Linked DNA regions of Homo sapiens: region 2 is linked to region 1. Evidence: promoter capture Hi-C in human tissues and cell types (Jung and others, 2019). All regions are on one chromosome and are shown on one strand. The core of a region is centred on a gene start or on the middle of the fragment in contact, and the rest is flanking DNA. Distances in the headings are between cores, read along the strand shown. Region 1 holds the start of LRRC27 (leucine rich repeat containing 27). Region 2 holds the start of ECHS1 (enoyl-CoA hydratase, short chain 1).

Region 1 (7,120 bases), core at 1,361-3,860:
AGAAACCTCAGGGCTCTGCTGGATCCCTTATTCAGGGCTGAGGATATCTGTTCATTAAAAGTGACACCTGTGTAACAGGAGCCAGGACAAGGCAGGTCCCTGTGACCAGTGCCTCACCCTAGATGTCAGCATGAAGGAAAGAAAGAGCAAGACCAGCGCTGCCGTGACAGCAAAGACAATGCAAATGTAGAGTTTATAACTTAAGCAGCCACTAAAAATCTAAATATGTAGCTCTTGTAGAAGCACTCAAAAATGTCAATCTGGCCAGGTGCGGTGGCTTACACCTGTAATTCCAGCACTTTGGGAAGCTGAGACAGGCAGATCACCTGATCTCAGGCATTCAAGATCAGCCTGGGCAACATGGTGAAACCCCATCTCTACTAAAAATACAAAAAGAAAGTCAATCAATATCATAACTATGTTCCAGACACTGAACTTTCACATTATTCATTTTCACAATAAATGATGTGAAAACATGATCATTCCGACATTCCAGATTAAACCAAATGAGGTTTAAGGAAATTCTGTGAGTCCCAGCAGGGACAAGTGCTGCAGGGGGAACCCTCAACTGTCTAACATCAAACCTGTGCCCTCACAGAAGCTTTCTCTAGAAATCACATGGACAAGACAGCATCTACTGCGGACTGACCCGGAGAAGGGCCGGGCACAAAGTAAAACCAGTGTGTAACATGAGCAAAATCATGGGTGAGAACAAAGTTTTTAACTGCTCATGTTGCCTGATTTTCTTTAAGGTTTTGTGTTTTAATTAAGAGACCAAGCGTGTTTGGCAGTAGTTTCTACCACAGGTTTTGAGAGATGAACTGCAAGGAAGAGAACAGACACCTTCATCTAAATAGATGTACTATTTCCATTGGTTGGTCCCCATCATGAATTTCCCATTTTGTTGTGATTGGCGTATGAAACTATGAGTTAACCTTTCCTCTATTTAATTTTAGAATTCATCAATTCCAAAGAGAAAGAAGCCTACAAATAAAGCCCAGGGGTACATTCCCATTTCTGTCTATAGGGGACCTGTGGGCACACAGCCTGAGGAGCAGCCCCACTTACTTGAAGGCTGGGGATTCTAAAGACCTCCTCCAAACGGCACAGACCACTTTCACTCAAGTCTAAAATCGGTGAGGAGGAAAAGATGATGCCTCCAACACCCTTGTGAACATCTTTGGAGGGGGTGGCAGGCAAGCTCCTAGTCTGACCAGCACCCTCCTCCAGATCAGCAGCAGCCACAGAGGGAACTTCGTAGGAGCTGCTTCCCTCCATCCGTTCTCTTCCAGGGACAGCAGCTCATCCTCCTTGGTCTGGAGTCACCTGGAGACACGGGAAAGGGAAACGTAGAAGCAACTAATTATACCGAGGCAAAACAGAATAGCTGTGTGGCAGATCTACTGTAATGTAACTTGCTTTAAAAGCTATCATTTTTCCTAAGCAGTAGCAAAAATTTGACTTTTAAACATGTAAAAAAAAAAAAAAGGAATACAAAGAGGTTCAGATTAAAATTCTCTGCTCTCACTTTGTACAATGGAGTTCCAAGATTTAACTCCTGGAAAACGCAAAGGCGCACAATAGTAATGATCATTTTAGGGATGTAAACAGATCGGAACATTTCAAAGCCTGTAAATCAACTGCAACGCTTCCATGAAATGACTAGGGGCGGGTGGAAATTTGCACTGTTTCTTACCTCTGGTGTGGTTCTGTGCCATTTGAACTATGTTTTTAGTTTCTTGAGGCCAGGAAGCCTGTCTTTTGTTTACCATTTTGACCCAGTGACCAGAACTAAGTCTGGCTTACACCCAGTTAAGCACCGGGGAAAAACCTGTTAAATTAATCTCGAATTTTCGTTGTCCAGCAACACTTTTACTCAGAAGTATTGTTCACCAAAATCTCATTCAGCGAGGCACACTTCCACTTGCAATTTCCAAACAATTTATTCGGCAATAAGAATCAACGTTGGAATGCATCAGTTCACCTAATTCAAGTCACTCAACAGCCCAATGATTGGCATATGAGGCGCAGATCAGTTAGGGAACTGTTCCAGGGGCGCAGTTAATTGGGGGGTAGAGGCGACACCGGGACCCAGCAGGGTTCAACCCCAGGCAGCCTGCATTCCATGGAAGCCCGCGGGCTTTTTCACGGTCAGTTCACTTGTTTTCTCCGAATCACGGAACTTAAAACAGAGGAGGGGAGGCTTCAAACCTCAGAACAGGGAAAGTATCTTAAAACCAGAAGTGAAACAACAGCCTGGACTCACACAGGGCCCAGGCAGCGCAGGCTCCGTGGGGTTTCCGAGGCTGCCTTCAAGGGATCCCCACGCACGCCCACCCCCGCTCCCTGCCTCGATTTCCCCATCCGGGCGAGGCTGAGTTGGGTCCGACGCTCTGGGCCTCACATTCCAGGCCTCAGAAGGGCAGCCTTTGCGGTCAGCATCGCGGCTGGAGCTAGGCGACAGGGCACGACGGGCCGAGGCACCACCTTCCTGCCGCCGCCCGCCTCGAGGGCTCAGCGAGCTGGCCGTACCCGCCCCGTCTCACCTGCCGCGTCCCCGCCCACTGAAGCGCTGGCGAGCCCCGCCGCTGAGAGCAGCAGCCCGACAATGGAGGCCACCCAGCCAACGCGGTCGCCATGGAGACGCCGGTACGGAATCCCGCAGGCGCCACGCTGAGCGCGAGTGTGTCTGTGATGCGCCTGCGCGAGGGGTGTGGTGCGCCTGCGCGCGGGGGTGTGCGTGTTGTGGGGGTTTGTGCCTGCGTGCGGGGGCGGGGTGTGGGTGCCCCTGCGCGGCAGGGGGTCGGGTGTGGTGCGCCTGCCCGGGAGGGGGCGGGGTGTGGTGCGCCTGCGCTGGGGCGGGGGGTTGCGCTTGCGGTGGGGGGGTTGTGGTGCGCCTGCGCGGGGGTGGCAGGGGGTGGTGCGCCTGCGCACGCACGCGGCCAACGGTAGCATCCGTTTTTCCGCGCCCGCGGCCTTGAAGGGGTGGTGGTCGACGGGCAAGTAGAGACCGCGAGGGTCTGGAGGGGCGACCGGCCTGGCACAGAGGGGAAGGAAGAGAGCGGGATGCTAAGTGCCGTCTGGGGAGCCGGAGGGCCCGGGGCGGGCGGGGCTGCTCGAGGACAGCCGAGCAGAAAAGAATTGCTGCTGAGGCACCACCTTTGGAGCGGTCCTCGCTGCCTGTCCTTCCCGCTGGGCTCACTCCCCGCGTCTCTCCTGGGGCTTCCTGGAGCCACTTCCCACAGGAGCTGCTTGTCCCCAAATCTTGCCTCAGGACTTGCTGCCAGGGGAACGCAGACTCAGAGCGTCCTCTTTGGAGAAGTAAGGCTGCCTCTGGACGGAGGAGTGAGGGGGGCGAGGAAACGCAGTGAGTGTCCTGAGGAAGGGTTTTGAGAATTTGGAAGAAGATGAAATGACACCGGGCGGGAGGGGAGGTGCTCGCGTGGTCCTGTGGAACCCTGGAGTCCCGTGCACCTTCATTCCAGGATCCAACTGATAATGAAAAGTAGCACCCTCTGTCCCACCCAGAAACACTCTGGAAACCCGGACAGTTTAGCTGGAGTCTGCCATGATTTCACTTTTTTTTTTTTTTTTTTTTTTTTGAGGTGGAGTCTTGCTTTGTCTCCCAGGCTGGAGTGCAGTAGCGCGATCTCGGCCCACTGCGACCTCCGCCTCCCAGGTTCAAGCAATTCTCCTGCCTCAGCCTCCCCAGTAGCTGGGACTACAGGCGCGCGCCACCACGTCCAGCTAATTTTTGTATTTTTAGTAGAGACGGGGTTTCATCATGTTGGCCAGGCTGGTCTCGATCTCCTGACCTCATGATCCGCCCCCCTCGGCCTCCCAAAGTGCTGGGATTACAGGCATGAGCCACCGTGCCCGGCCTGATTCCACTTTTTAAAGGAAACGACATAATTATGTGGAGAAACGACTATCCACTTTGAGGGGATTTACGTTTTATTTTTGTGAAGAGATCACAGTAAGAAATGTTTTTTAGGCCGGACACGATGGCTCACGCCTGTAACCCTAGCACTTTGGGAGGCCAGGGTGGGAAGATCGCTTGAGGCCAGGAGTTGGAGACCAGCCTGGGCAACCCAGTCTCTACAAAAATTAAAAAAAAAAAAAAAAAAAAATGCTGGGTGTGGTGGCACACACCTGTAGTTCCAGCTGTGTGGGAGGGTGAGGCAAGAGGATCGCTTGAACCTAGGATTTTGAGGCTGCAGTGAGTTATGATTGTGCCACTTAATGTCAGCTTCGGTGACAGCGAGACCCTGTCTCAAAAAAAAAGTTTTCGTACATACCCAACTATCTACCAATCAGGAAGCTGAAAGCACAACCAGTACCTTCTCAGGAGCGTGGGGAGGCCAGCCACCCGGGCAGAGCAAGGAGAGAATGAGGAGTGACATGGGTGTTGCCGTGAGTGGCGAAGGGGATGGAAGATTTCAGCACGATGCTATTTCTAACAAGTTTCAGCATTCCAGTATCTCTTTTCACAAATAAAACATTTACTAACCATTTGAGCGTATTCCCTCTTGCTTGTTATTGTTGCCTCAGGTTTTTGTTTCACATTTTTCATGCTACATTAATTTTTGTAGTCAGTAGTTAATTGTATGTACGAGCATGTTTTGCCCTTTACTGTGCTCAGTTTTTGCCCAGCCAGATTGTATCCATTGGTAGCCTTTTGGCAAGTATTCTTGGGTGAGCCTCCCAACGTAGGAACGAATGAAGTGTTCGTGTTGATCTGATTATTGAGTGGCTGTGGAGCTGGTGCCGCGTTCCTTGTTGAGTCATTTCCTGTCTTGATTTTAGGACCTTCCTCCGGGCAGCGACTGCTGCTACCCTGCCGAGAAGTTTGCTGCCCGTGGCATTGCTACTTCCATGAAGGAAATCTATCTTCTCTTTTCATGTCTTTGTTCTGAAATTTCGCTGTGGTATTTCTGAGTATAAGTTGGTTTGGCTGTGTTGCCTGGCGCTGGCCGTGTCTTCTCACCTGAGATAGCTAAGTTTCAGTTCCCAGCCCTTCCCGGCCATCTGTCCTCCCGTGGCACCTCTGCACCCTGACATAATTCTTGTTCTGGATCTCCTAAAAGGGAGTAGCTTGCACCCATTCAGTGTCTTCTCCATCTCTCAAACTGCGCTTCCCAGTATTGGTCTCTGTGTTCTCAGTTTACGATCTTCCAGTTTACTAGTTCTGTCTCCATCCAATTAGTTTGTTTAATCTGTTGAGTTTTTAAATAAAACCGCATTGGTCTCTATTTCTAATTTTCTTTTTTGTGTCTAATTTCTTCCAGTTTTTGTTTTATAATCTGTTTTTAATGTTCACGGCTGTTTTCTTTCTTTATCTACCATGAGAATCCCAAACACCTCTATTTATTTATTTTATTTATTTTTTGAGACAGGGTCTCAGTCTGTCACCCAGGCTGGAGTTCAGCGGTGTGATCTCGGCTCACTGTAGCCTTTGCCTCCCAGATTCAAGCAATCCTCCCACCTCAACCCCTCAAGTAGCTGAGACTACAGGCATGTGCCACCACACTGGGCTAATTTTTGTATTTTTTGTAGAGACGGGTTTTACCATGTTGCCCAGGCTGGTCTCGAACTCCTGAGCTCAAGCCATCCACCTGCCTCAGCCTCCCAAAGTGCTGGGATTATAGGCGTGAGCCACTGCCAGTCCTGAGCCACTGCCCGGGGTAGACACATTTATTTTAAACTGTGCTTTATTGTTTTCATCTCCCCTGGGCGGAATTTACCAGTTGATGGCTGATACTGTTATCTGTCTTCTTGGAGTCCTGTGTTTTGAAATCTAGGCTTGCAGGCTTCTGCAGAGGGGGCTTATGTTCTGTTTCCCTGAGTATTCACTGTGTGTCATGCTCTGGCAGGAGCCTCCGTCCAGCCTTTTGGGGTCATGCTTGGGTGCTTGCCTGGCCTTGCCGTTGGGAACTGTAGATCCAGTCCTGGAGCCAGCAAGAGGCTGGGCCGAAGGCTGTCCTCGTCTCCATCTCCAGATATCGCTGCAGAAGTTGTATGTTTTTTCACATTCCTTTCATGGAAGTGAAACCGCCTTTGCAAAATTATAACTGAGGAAATTATGACAGTGAAAGAGATCAGACCTAACCGATTCCATCTTGCTTCTAACTTTTAAGCTGTCCTTGTTCATTCCTGGGCATAGGCCAAACTAACCTTGGGAAGGAATTCAGTTCATGGTTTGACTCTGAAACAAAATGGGTAATAGCCCTTTCCCGAAAATACCCCCTTCTTGCCCAGGGACCAATCTGCCTTTGCAGGACTAACAAATTAGGTACAATATTAGACATTACAGGTTAGGGGTCCTGCAGCCTCTGGCTCCAAGAGTCTAAACCTCCCCAAATTGCTCCTGGGTATAACATCACTATTGTAAAACCCAAGATCAGAGCTTGAGATATTTTGCAAACCCTGCACTCCACAGATCAGCCGACACCACCCAGACCTGTAATCTCGCTCCGGCAGTTCGGGCACCCACCCAGGAGCAGAAAACAGCAAGGAAACCTCACTTCGACCCCCTATGAGTCCATCTCCAACCTGACCAATCAGCACTCCTCATGTCCCAAAGCCCCACCCTCCCAATTATCTTTAAAAACTCTGATCCCAGAATGCGCAGGGAGACTGACTGAGTAATAATAGTAGAACTCCGGTCTCCTGCACAGCCCGCTCTGCGTTAATTACTCTTTCTCCATTGCAATTCCCCTGTCTTGGTAAATGGGCTCTGTCTAGGCAGCAGGCAAGGTGAACCCATAGGGCAGTTACAGAGGCAAGAGACTTATTCCAGCCCTGGTTTTCAGCGATGCTCTTGGCTGTTCTCCACTACTCTCAGGCACTTTCTGCCCCCTCACTCTTCAGGGACAGCCCTCCCAAGCACCTTTCCCTCTTTCTGGGCCCAGAGCCCCCACAGGCCCAAAGTCTGGGTCCTGTGAGCTGCTATGTGTTTCTGATTCATTTTTGGTCTATGAAGTGTTGGTGGTTTTTAAATTTTTGTTTTAAAAATTACCTATTATAGGCCAAGCATGGTGGCTCACACCTGTAATCCCAGCGCTTTGGGAGGCTGAGGCGGGCGGATCACCTGAGGTCAGGAGTTTGAGACCAGCCTGAC
Region 2 (3,638 bases), core at 1-2,500, 1.0 Mb before region 1:
CATTTACACAGGGCGTACACCAAGTAACCAATGGAAACCTCTAGAGGGTATTTAACCCCCCCAAAAAATCTGTAACGGGGCTCTTGAGCCGCTATGCTCAGCCGCTCCCACAGTGTGGAGTTATTTTCGTTGTCTTTTCTTGTTTCTTTTTTGAGACGAAGTCTGGCTCTATCGCCCAGGCTGGAGGGCAGTGGTGCGATCTCGGCTCACTGCAACCTCCGCCTCCCGGATTCAAGCAATTCTCCTGCGTCAGCCTCCCGAGTAGCTAAGACCACAGGCGTGCACCACCACGCCCGGCTAATTTTTGTGTTTTTAGTAGAGAGGGGGGTTTCACCATGTTGCCCAGGCTGGTCTCAAACTCCTGACGTCAGGTGATCTGCCCGCCTTGGCCTCCCAAAGTGCTGGGATTACAGGCCTGAGCCACCGCGCCCGGCCACACTTTTGTTTTCCATAAATCTCGCTTTTGTTGCTTCCTTCTTTCCGTGCTTTGTTTGTGCGTTTTGTCCAGTTCTTTGTTCAAGACGTCAAGAACCTGGACACCCTCCACCGGTCACAATAGCAGTTTCGCTTTCCATTCCATTTTATCCAGGGTGGTTTTATCTCCACCCTGGCGTTTGCAGAATCCGGGCAAGTACACAAATGGATGCTCCACAATACTTGTCTAGATATTTAAAAGGTATAAATAAAATAACTTAAATGAATGAAATTTTTATTATTTAAATCTGTTGAAGTCTTGTGTGCATGAAAATAAAACTCCTCCTAATGTGGCGTTCAGTGCCCACGCCGCTGCCACCGTGCCTGGCCCTGCGCCTGGGCGCGCTGTGTCCGCTGCTACAGACGCCGGCGGGCAGGCGGGCAGGCGGGCAGGCGGGCAGGCGGGCAGGCGGGCAGGCGGGCAGGCGGGCGGGGGGAGGCGGCGCAGAGCCCGGCAGGCGCCGCCGTTGCCTCCGCCTCCGCGCGGTCTCCCCGGGGCCAGCTGGGACCCCGAGGGCTGGGGCGGGGGCGGGGGCGCGGGCGACTGCGGCGGGGCCTGGAGGGCGCTGGTCCCAGCCCAGGGCGGGGTCCCGGGGACGCCCCTCGGCCTTAGATCCGCGAGCGGCAGCTCGGGCCTGGGGGCGGGGCCTGGCGGAGAGCGACCCGCTCACTCTGCCCGGGCTGATCTCGCGAGGGCCGCCTGGTCTCGCGGCGCTGGCCTGTGGGCGGAGCGAGCCCTGAAAGGCTATAGGCGAGGGGGCGGCTCCGCGGGGCCGGGCGAGGAGTCCAGAGAGCCATGGCCGCCCTGCGTGTCCTGCTGTCCTGCGTCCGCGGCCCGCTGAGGCCCCCGGTTCGCTGTCCCGCCTGGCGTCCCTTCGCCTCGGGTGAGTGCGCGGTGAGAGCTGGCGGCCCGAATCTCCTCCTGACTCCGACCTGCACGCCCAGACCAGATCCCAGACCGCACCCCCCTCCCACCTGACCCCGCATCCCCCACCTGACCCCAACCCACACCCCTCTTCCGCCTGACCCCGCACCCTCACCTGACCCCTACCCGCACCCCACTCCGCCTGACCCCGCACCCCCCCGCCTGACCCCGCACCCCCCCACCTGACCCCGCACCCTCCGGCCTGACCCCTACCCGCACCCCACTCCGCCTGACCCCGCACCCCCCCACCTGACCCCGCACCCCCCGGCCTGACCCCGCACCCCTCTTCCGTCCGATCCCGCATCCCCAGGGCCTGACTCCGCACTCTCCTGCCTGACCCCGCACCTACCACCTGACCCCGACCCGCAGCCCCTGCCTGGCTCAGGCCTGCAACACCCCCCTCGCCTAGTGCTGCACCCCCCACCTGACCCGCACCCACAGCCTGACCCAGGCTTAACACCCCCCCACCACCCGCCACCCCGCACCGACACCACCCACCTGACCCTGGCCCGCACCCCCACCCCCTGCCTGGCTCTGCAGGAGGCCACTCTCACCAGGCCACGTCCTGCGGGAGGCCCGGCGGCTGGCTGGTACTGCCCCAGTGCCAAGACCTCTGGCCAACTGGGCGCAGGGTGGGGGTTGTAAAAATCCGGGGTGTTCCCTCGGCTCTAAGAGCAGGCGTAGCTCCTGTGCAGCCGGCCAGCCCGAGAACAGGAGATGCAGGTGCATTTTGTCCTGGGTGCCTCCTGACCAGGGCCACCCCTCAGAGGGTCCTAAGGGAAAAGCTGACACCTCCTCCCCAGCCACAGGGGGCTGCCCTCTTCCTCCCTCGTGGCTCACCCGGGGCCCCACTCATGAGCGGCCATCACCGGCTCTAGTATCTGAGGAATCTTGGGCCATGCCTTGGGCTGGGGAAGAACTCTTGCTTCCTCTTCCTCCCTCACCCTGTGTAGCAGTGGACCACTGAGTTGTGTTGGTTTCATCTCCATGCTCTCCTTGGCCTTCGGCTTCTCCACCCTGACAGCAGCCCTTTCCTGGATCTTGCATGGCGGGCACTGCTGCCAGACACTTCACCTGTGATCTTCCAGTTACCCCTAGAAACCCACAGGATACGGCGGGGCACAGTGGCTAATGCCTATAATCCCAGCACTTTGGGAGGCTGAGGCAGGTGGATCACCTGAGGTCATCAAGACCACCTTGGCCAACATGGTGAAACCCCATGTCTACTAAAAATACAAAAATTAGCCAGGTGTGGTGGTGTGTGACCGTAGTCCCAGCTACTCGGGAGGCTGAGGCAGGAGAATCACCTGAACCCTGTAGGCAGAGGTCGCAGTGAGCCAAGATTGCGCCACTGCACTCCAGCCTGGGCAATAGAGTGAGACTCGGTCTCCAAAAAAAAGAAACCCATAGCACAGGGACTATGATCCCTGCTCTGCCACTAACGGAGGCAAGCATCCAACACACAGGCTACCTTTGTCTTTTCAGGTTCACCTTCTCACCCCTGGAACGCCATTGTCCTTTGTCTCCTTCCCACCTTGCTGTCCACCCAGCAGGCGCAGGTCCTGTGCAGCAGGCCAACCGAGAAGCGCCTGCGTCTCCCATTTTCGGGCTGGCCTGCTGCTCCGGACCTGTGCCTGATCTTAATGCTGCAGGAACACCCAGGATTTTCACATCCCCCACCCTGCGTCCAGTTGGCCAGAGGTCTTGGCACTGGGGCGGTACCAAGTGCAAGGAGCTGCCTTACACCCCCTCACCTGTTGGCATTTGTTGAAAGAAGGTGTTTCCTGGTGCCTTGTCTCAGCAGAGTCCAGGGCTGTCTCCAGAGTGGTGTCCTGGGAAGAGCTGACCAAGGCATATTAGGAGAAGGAAAGCGGCTGTGGGCTGTGTTCTGTGCTGGGGATTTTTCTTTTTTTCTTTTCTTTTTTTTTGAGACGGAGTCTCACTCTGTCACCCAGGCTGGAGTGCAGTGGCATGATCTCAGCTCACTGCAAGCTCCACCTCCTGGGTTCATGCCACTCTCCTGCCTCAGCCTCCCCAGTAGCTGGGACTACAGGCGCCCGCCACAACACCCGACTAATTTTTTGTATTTTAGGTAGAGACGGCGTTTCACCGTGTTAGCCAGGATGGTCTCGATCTCCTGACCTTGTGATTCGACCGCTTCGGCCTCCCAAATTGCTGGGATTACAGGCGTGAGCCACCGCGCCCGGCCCGGGGATTTTCTTTAGGACATGTTCAAACA

Evidence for each region. The method cuts DNA at HindIII sites, captures the fragments that hold promoters and counts their contacts. A contact is called where the count stands out against the background at its distance.
Region 2: a contact is called between the fragment with the promoter of ECHS1 here and the fragment with the promoter of LRRC27 in region 1, in 1 of the 25 tissues and cell types used here (lymphoblastoid cells).

What each region holds. Positions count from the first base shown.
Region 1 is chr10:132,327,683-132,334,802 of GRCh38, reverse strand. It overlaps LRRC27 (leucine rich repeat containing 27), which reads right to left and starts at 2,610. Exons shown (of 11, transcript NM_030626.3): 1 at 2,547-2,610; 2 at 1,069-1,326. The coding sequence starts at 1,278. It also overlaps a transcript of STK32C not described here. RefSeq lists a silencer at 2,789-2,908 and an enhancer at 2,793-3,327. The HindIII fragment of the contact is 23,116 bases long and covers 1-7,120 here.
Region 2 is chr10:133,370,966-133,374,603 of GRCh38, reverse strand. It overlaps ECHS1 (enoyl-CoA hydratase, short chain 1), which reads left to right and starts at 1,250. Exons shown (of 8, transcript NM_004092.4): 1 at 1,250-1,358. The coding sequence starts at 1,271. MIR3944 (microRNA 3944) reads left to right here and starts at 2,941; the gene lies at 2,941-3,048. RefSeq lists an enhancer at 507-596 and a silencer at 978-1,487. The HindIII fragment of the contact is 22,751 bases long and covers 1-3,638 here.